2 separate regions of the Homo sapiens genome follow, and region 2 is linked to region 1. The links are contacts of gene promoters, found by promoter capture Hi-C in blood cells and fetal thymus (Javierre and others, 2016). All regions are on one chromosome and are shown on one strand. The core of a region is centred on a gene start or on the middle of the fragment in contact, and the rest is flanking DNA. Distances in the headings are between cores, read along the strand shown.

Region 1 (4,253 bases), core at 1,116-3,615:
CTCAGCCTCCCGAGTAGCTGGGACTACAGGTGCATGCCACCACACCTGGCTAATTTTTTGTGTTTTTAGTAGAGACAGGATTTCACCACGTTAGCCAGGATGGTCTCGATTTCCTGACCTCGTGATCTGCCCACCACGGCCTCCCAAAGTGCTGGGATTACAGGTGTGAGCCACTGTGCCTGGCCAGCCACCGGAAAGTTTTATGTAAGCAGGGGAGTGATCTGTTTTATCATTTAGAAGGATACATACCTCTTCTTTTTTTTTTAGAGACAGGGTCTAGTTCTGTCACCCAGGCTGGAGCCCAGTGTCATAATCATAGCTTACTGTAACCTCAAACTCCTGGGCTCAAGTGATCCTCCTGCCTCAGCATCCCAAAGTGCTGGATTACAGGCATGAGTCACCATGCCTGGTCACACTTCTCATTCTTTAAACCAGACCTCATTTGTCGCCTCCCCCATCCCCCGCCCCACCCCACGGACTGTCCTATAATGCCCATACAACAGGTCACTGTTTAGAAAGTGCTACAAAGTTACAAACACAGTCCCTTCTGAGCCTCCCACCAATGTTGGTGGGTACAAGATCAAAAAAAAAAAAAAAAAACTCATCTATCTAAGGGGCATAGAAGACTTTTTAGTTAGAGGGCCCAATTATAGTCCTCCTGAAAAGATGCCAAAAGTCCCCTCATACACTTAGCAAAGATGCAAGAAAGATGAATCTCACATTCTTTGTATGGGAAATGAGGAACTTGACATCTTCAATATAATGGATTCCACTAAAATAAGATGACTATTAATAGGAACCAACTAAAAAAATACTTGACTAGCTGTTATTGAAAGGCTGAAATTCAGCTGACATAAGCAGTATTAATATTGAGCTAGAAAATAATTCGCATTGAATCCACCCCAACTTTTGTTTTCTGATTTGGGTCTCTTCTAAATTTTTTTTTTCTTCTGGACATTGGGAACAATCCAATTTGAAGGCCTCAATGACCAAATCTACACTCATGTTTTATTCTATATCCTTGGTTTCTTTTTTTTTTTTTGAAACAGTCTTGGTCTGTCGCCCAGGCTGGAGTGCAGTGGCGCAATCTCGGCTCACTGCAACCTCCGCCTCCCGGGTTCAAGCTATTCTCTGCCTCAGCCTCCCAAGTAGCTGGGATTACAAGCACCCACCACCACTCCTGGCTAATTTTTGTATCTTCAGTAGAGATGGGGTTTCACCATCTTGGCCAGGCTGGTCTTGAACTCCTGACCTCGTGATCCACCCGCCTCAGCCTCCCAAAGTGCTGGGATTACAGGCGTGAGCCACCACGCCCGGCCCTACATCCTTGGTTTCAGTAAATCTCTATTCTAAAACTGAAAAAGAGAAAACATTGCAGATAAAACTTTACAGCAGGGTCTTGTGTTTTGTTCAGGACAAGATTCGTAAGCTCCAAATGCTACAAGGAACCCTGCCTGAGTGCTGGCAACTTTTTTATCCTGACTGGGCAGCCGTTGTACATATTTCTGTAGAAATTCATGGAGCTGTATACTTTACTGTAATTCTACCCGATACAAAAGATTATAATACTTGGCTGGCTACCATTTATTGTGACTGTCTAGCCACAATGCCAGGCACTGTGCTAGACACATCACACGATTCTCAGCTAATCCCCGCCCCATTCTATTCCCATTTTACTGCTGAAGGATCTGAGGCTCAGAGAAGGCAAGCCACTTACCAAAGGTCCCACAGCAATAAACAGACAAGGCAGAATTCGGTTTCAAGTTGGTCTAACTGTATGTGAAGGCTGAAATGTCCGGGAGGCAGGCACCTCATACCAGAATGTTAGGCGTGGAGGGGGTGCTCAAATCCTTTCATTTAACAGCAGATGAGGCTATTGAAAGACTGTCTCGGTCAACAGCTGGAAGACAAACCCACCACGGTCCAGACTGCAGTTCTCGTGTCCTTTTGGCCCGGCTGGGTTCCACTGGATTGGATGAGGACGCGTTTGTGGAGGGAGCAGGAATAAGGAAGATCTCCTTCCCACCTGCTGTTCCCCAGAGCCGGGAGCACCCGGCGTCGGGGGTGGGAGGGAACAGCGGCCAGGCCGAGCCTCCAGCACCCGGCTCCCTCCGTGCGCCCTCGGACCCCAGGGGCACCGTCCCCGCGCGCGCTCCCTGCCGCCCTACCTGGATGGACCGCCGGCTGCCGGCTGGGCCTGCCGGGCTGGAGCGCACTGCCGCTGGACTCGCTCATGGCCGCGCCCCGCGCTCCTCAGAGGCTGCCGAGGACCCTCTCCAGCCGCCGCCGCCGCCGCCGCCTCCCCGGCCTTCCCTCGCGGAGCCGGGATTCCAGGTTCCGGCGCTGACATCACAGAAGCCGGAGTGGGGCGCCCCCGCGAGGAGCCGAGCATCAGGGACCGCAGAGGGGCTGCAGAGCCCGGGAGATCCGGCAAGGCTCCATCCAGCGGTGGCGACAAGCAGCGACCTCCCTGATGTCTCACTGAGCTTAAAAAATAACAATAGATTGGGCGCACTGGGAGCCCAGTCTCCACCAGGACCCGGTACACCCATGTAACAAACATGCACATGGACCCCCTGCATCTAAAATCAAACCTGATCTAATAAAGAAATAAATAACAAAAATAACTGGTTGGGAGTGGTGGCTCACGTCTGTAATCCTCGCATTTTGGGAGTCCGAGGCTGGAGGACCGCACGAACTCACAAGTTTGAGACCAACCTGGCCAACACAGTGAGACCCCCATCTTTAAAATTAAAAAATAAAAAGTCCACACGCAAAAAACCCCAAGACTCCAAATCAGTGCATCTAGTAAGTTACCATTTGGGAACAAAAAGGAAACCAAAAAATATATTTGTACATGCTTGTAAATGCCTAAGCTATCTCCCTAGAGGGTGCAAAAAACTGGCTACCTGTGGTAGCTCTGGGTGGGGAGCTAGAGGGCCGAGTGAAGAGAAAACCACGTGCAGTGTTTGTCTTTTACGTTTTGCACTATATCCTCGTTTCATCTCTACCTCTGTTCGTGTGCAGGTTAAAAACATAAAATTGCCAGGCGCAGTGGCTCACACCTGTAATCTCACCACTTTGAGAGGCCGAGGCGGGAGGATCACCTGAGGTCAGGAGTTCGAGACTATCCTGGCCAACACGGTGAAACCCTGTCTCTACTAAAAATACAAAATTAGCCTGGCATGGTAGTGCATGCCTGTAGTCCCAGCTACCAGGGAGGCTGAGGCAGGAGAATCGCTGGAACCCAGGAGGCAGAGGTTGCAGTGAGCCGAGATCACGCCACTGCACTCCAGCCTGGGCGACAGAAGGAGACTCCATCTCAGAAAAAAAAAGAAAAAGAAAAGTAATTGCTAAATATAAATAAATGGGGAAAATGGAGAGAAATCTCCTGTGCAGATTTTGAAATCATTTACGTAGATACTTTAAGGATGGGGAGCTTAGCTCCCTACTCCTTAAGTGTGAGTTGCCCATAGCGACATCCTTCCAAAAGAGTGCAGTATGGAAGTGGTGGTGGAAGAGGGTGAGGGTGGGTTTTATATTAGATAATACCTGACAAACACTGTCTCAGACAGATGATCAAAGTTAACATCATCCGGGATCAGTGGCTCACACCTGTAATCCCAGCACTTTGGGAGGCCGAGGCAGGTGGATCACTTGAGGTCAGGAGTTCGAGACCAGCCTGGCCAACATGGCGAAACCCTGTCTCTACCAAAAATACAAAAAAATTAGCTGGGCATGGTGGCGGGCGCCTGTAATCCCAGCTACTAGGGAGGCTGAGGCAGGAGAATCTCTTGAACCCAGGAGGCGGAGGTTGCAGTGAGTCGAGATTGCACTACTGCACTCCAGCCTGGGCAACAGAGTAAGACTCCATCTCAAAAAAAAAAAGTAAATAAGTAAATAAGTTAACATCAACATTAAGCCATGAGGATGGTGTGCACCCTTCCTACGATGGGATGAGAAGGGCACTTTACCTCTGTGGTCATAAGAAAAATATCAGACAAATTCAACTGAGGGGCATTCTACAGAATACCTGATTAGTATTCCTCAAAACTGTCAAGGTCATTTAAAAAAAAAAAAAAAGGAGGCTGGAGACTGGGTGTGGTGGCTCATGCCTGTAATCCCAGCACTTTGGGAGGCCAAGGCAGGTGGATCGCAAGGTCAGGAGTTCGAGACCAGCCTGGCCAAGATGGTGAAACCCTGTCTCTACTAAAAAAAATACAAAAAATTAGCTGTGTATGGTGGTGGGCACC
Region 2 (4,253 bases), core at 647-3,146, 78 kb before region 1:
CAGGGAGACTGATTTGAGTAATAATAATATTCTGGTCTCCTGTTTAGCCAGCTCTGCATGTATCAAACGCTTTCTCTGTTGCAATTCCTCTGCTGCAATTCCTCTGTCTTGATGAATGGGCTGTATCCAGGCAGCGGGCAAAATGAACCAGTTGGGCAGTTACACACATACACCCTCCTTGGCTTCAACAGAGCCAAGGAGCTTTAAAAGCACTCATCTGAGGACTACATTAAACACTTCTTTCTTTTCTCTCATTTTAGGAAAAAGCAAAGAGGAACTTTACAAACTATTACAGTTTTCCATCATCACTTGACTGCTGACAAGAAGCCTCTTTGAATTCCAGTATACACGATCACATTTTAAAACCTTCAAGACGCCGTTTAATCAGGAGTTGTAAGGCACATTTGTTAGAGAGAGCTGCACTTTAAAAGTTATACAGACATCACCTGAAGTTATTAAAGTTATCAAAACATATTAAAAACCTTCAAGTAAGAGGTATGCATATTAGCAGCATTTAACTAAAATTAATATATTAATTAGCATATTTCAGTATCACTTTTATAATAGGAAAAAAAACGCAGTACGTTTTCGTTGTGTTCATCACACACACACACACACACACACACAAATAGAAAACTTGAATATCATCAAGTCTGGTCACAGTGAAAATGTTATATAAATATAAAGGCACTGGGCAGAAATGTTTACAATTACAACTTTTTTTTTCTTTTCACCTATCTTTTTTTTTGAGATAGGGTCTCCCTCTGTCACCTAGGCTGGAGTACAGTGGCACGGTCTCGCACACTGCAGCCTTCACCTCCCAGGTTCAAGTGATTCTCATGCCTCAGCCTCCCAAGTAGCTGGGATTACAGGCACACGCCACCATGCCTGGCTAATTTTTGTACTTTTAGTAGAGACGGGGTCTTGCCACATTGACCAGGCTGGTCTCAAACTTCTGACTTCAGGTGATCTGCCCTCCTTGGACTCCCAAAGTTCTGGGATTGCAGGCATGAGCCACTGTGCCCAGCAGAATTTATTTTTTTAAGTGAGACTGGAATGAATCTTTGGTTACTCAAAATTCCATGACACCAGTTATTAGATTTAGACGAGATCAGGCATTTTCAGGGTGGTATGACTGTAGTTATTAGATTTAGAAACCCATAAACCTTACCAAGTCAGGAAAAGACCGAAAAGCTCATTGGTATCCCAGTTACAAAAATATTCCACTTTAAATAATATCTTTGTGGAAAAGCAAGAAAATGGCTGTAAGAAAGGGACGAGAAGATACCTTTGCTCCTCTGAGCAAGGATTCAGGCATTTTTGAGTAGTGGAGTGGAGATGGCCGGGAGAATTATTGTTAACAGCAACAGCTTTCTAAAACCTGCACCCAACTTTAAATTCCAGGCTACTCCCCAGGAAACGTGTGGAGCCAGTGAACGGAAGAAAAACAATGGAAGGAAGGCTTGAAAAGTCCATTACAAAACTACAGTCCTTTGAAAAAGATTTCAAAGATATTAAAATGAAAACTGATTACATTAAACAATAACTTAAACTTCTGTTCTTCTGTTAAAAGGTTGACATCTATCAATTTTGGGTAAGCTTACAATGAGGTATTTATTGCATATGGTTTTTACCATAACGGAAATCTTAAGAGATATTCTACATTTTTTTTTTAGGGAGAGTTTTGCTCTTTTTGCCCAGGCTGGAGTGCAATGGTGTGATCTCAGCTCACTGCAAACTCCACCTCCTGGGTTCAAGCAATTCTCCTGCCTCAGCCTCCTGAGTAGCTGATATTACAGGCATGTGCCACCACACCCAGCTAATTTTGTATTTTAGTGGAGACGGAGTTTCTCCACGTTGGTCAGGCTGGTCTTGAACTCCCCAACTTAGGTGCTCCGCCTGCCTCGGCCTCCCAAAGTGTTGGGATAACAGGCGTGAGCCGCTGCGCCCAGCCACATGTTTTGTGAAATAAAGGCACATGCATTAAAAATTGTAAGCACAGGAAAACAACCCTAAAAAATGTGGACGTGTGTGTTTAAGAAACCAGCCTCCAATTCTGTTTGTTATACACTCATGGGCTGGTCTGATTAACAGGCTGAGCTTCAGTCCACAACCCAAAACACTTGTGCACATAAACTCGTGGCTCAAATACTAAACTACCGTCTCCGCTCTTTCATTCTTGTAAAAGCTTGAATGGCTTGTTGGTTTTTGGTAGAGTTGTCACAGAGTGGCCGGTCTGCAGGCAAAGCCTTGGGTTTCCCCTGCTTTTCTAAGTCACTGAAGCCCTAATTAAGGGCTGGGTTAGGTAAACACAGCTGCACATATGGAAAAGCCTAAACTCAAGAAAAATATATTTTTAAATGTCCACTCAAAACCCAGGTAGACTCTGTAGGCTCAGCAGAATCACTAGGTCAGCTTAGAAGCAACAGGCAGCACCATCTTCACGCTCAGTCTAGTTAGTTCCTCATGTCCCTTTGGGCTTCTGTTAGTTTCTGGATTAGGTAGCACTTGTCACGACTTTCCTAAAAAATAATAAGTTCACATGTACATTTAATATATTTGGAAACAAATACCATCATTACCTACCAGACTGAGGGCTGAGGATTCTAACCACTGGACTATTGTAATGGCCTCTCATCTGGTCTGTCATTGTGTCTGCTCCACAGCCCCTTGTCCACAAAGCAGCCGATCCTTTTTTTAAAAAATGCACAGTACAGCTGGACACGGTGGCTCATGCCTGTAATCCCAGCACTTTGGGAGGCCGAGGCAGGTGGATCACCTGAGGTCAGAAGTTTGAGACCAGCCTGACCAATATAGTAAAACCCCATCTCTACTAAAAATACAAAAATTAGGCCGGGTGAGGTGGCTCACACCTGTAATCCCAGCACTTTGGGAGGCCAAGGCAGGTGGATCACCTGAGGTCAGAAGTTTCAGACCAGCCTGACCAACGTGGTGAAACCCCACCTCTACTAAAAATACAAAAATTAGGCCAGGCGAGGTGGCTCACGCCTGTAATCTCAGCACTTTGGGAGGCCGAGGCAGGTGGACCACCTGAGGTCAGGAGTTCGAGACCAGCCTGGCCAACAAGGTGAAACCCCGAAACCCCGTCTCTACTAAAAATACAAAAAATTAGCCGGGCGTGGTGGCAGGTGCCTGTAATCCCATCTACTTGGGATGCTGAGGCAGGAGAATTGCTTGAACCCAGGAGGTGGAGGTTGCAGTGAACTGAGATCACACCACTGCACTCCAGCCTGGGCGACAGAGTGAGACCCTGTCTCAAAGGAAAAAAAAAAAAAAAAAGACTGGCCATCATGGTGAAACCCCTTCTCTACTAAAAATACAAAAGTTAGCCGGTTGTGATGGTGGGTGCCTGTAATCCCAGCTACTTGGGAGGCTGAGGAAGGAGAATCAATTGAACCCGGGAGGTGGAGGTTGCAGTGAGCTGAAATTGCGGCACTGCACTCCAGACTGGGTGACAGAGCAAGACTCTGTCTCAAAAAAAAAAAAAAATGCACAGTAGACTCTTACAAACCCTTCAGCAGCTTCCCATCCCACTCAGAATAAAACTCTAAACAGAGCCCTCAAGGCACTGTGACTTGATGACTCTGGTTGCTATTACAATATCACCTTGCCTCTTCCCATCACTCACCACCCTGTGGCCACACTGTCCCCTCCCTCCTGTCCCCCTGAAGTGCCTGGCTCATTTCTTTACTGTGCTCTTTGCCTCTTACTTTCATCCTTAAATAGGACCTCAGATAATGGGCTCCTCTCTCTATTATTCAAGTCTCAGCTAGGGTCCAGGCATAGTGGCTCATGCCTGTAATCCCAGCACTTTGGGGAACTGAGAGGGGACAATCACTTGAGCCCAGGAGTTCAAGACCAGCCTGGGCAACATAGGGAGACCTCATGTCTATAAAAAATTTAAAAATTAGCCAGGCATGGTGATGCACGCCTGTAGTCCCAGCTACTTGGGAGGCTAAGGTGGGAGGATGGCTTGAGACCAAGAGTTTGAGGCTGCTGTGAGCTATGACCACACAATCGCACTCCAGCCTGGGCGAGAGAGTGAGACCCCGTCCTGAATAAAAAAATAAAAAAAAATCACCTCCTCAAAGAAGCCTTCTACAGCCGCATCTGCAGTAACTGATAGCCCGCTTGTCACTCTACCTTGTTTTTATTGTCTTCATAGAAGCTATAATTAATCAGCATTTATCTTATTAACTACCCAGCAGCTTTGTCTCTTGTTCACCAAAGCG

What was found. The method cuts DNA at HindIII sites, captures the fragments that hold promoters and counts their contacts. A CHiCAGO score of 5 or more calls a contact.
Region 2: a contact is called between a fragment that was not itself captured here and the fragment with the promoter of TMC7 in region 1, in 1 of 17 cell types (endothelial precursors). The highest score is 5.1, in endothelial precursors.

What each region holds. Positions count from the first base shown.
Region 1 is chr16:18,982,046-18,986,298 of GRCh38, reverse strand. It overlaps TMC7 (transmembrane channel like 7), which reads right to left and starts at 2,365. Exons shown (of 16, transcript NM_024847.4): 1 at 2,169-2,365. The coding sequence starts at 2,235. RefSeq lists a silencer at 2,395-2,454. The HindIII fragment of the contact is 29,016 bases long and covers 1-4,253 here.
Region 2 is chr16:19,060,047-19,064,299 of GRCh38, reverse strand. TMC7 (transmembrane channel like 7) reads right to left here. Exons shown (of 16, transcript NM_024847.4): 16 at 358-2,522. The coding sequence ends at 2,457. It overlaps COQ7-DT (COQ7 divergent transcript), which reads left to right. Exons shown (of 3, transcript NR_119381.1): 2 at 261-495; 3 at 1,405-1,546. Among named protein-coding and RNA genes, the nearest start is that of COQ7, 5.4 kb to the left of the region's middle. The HindIII fragment of the contact is 589 bases long and covers 1,602-2,190 here.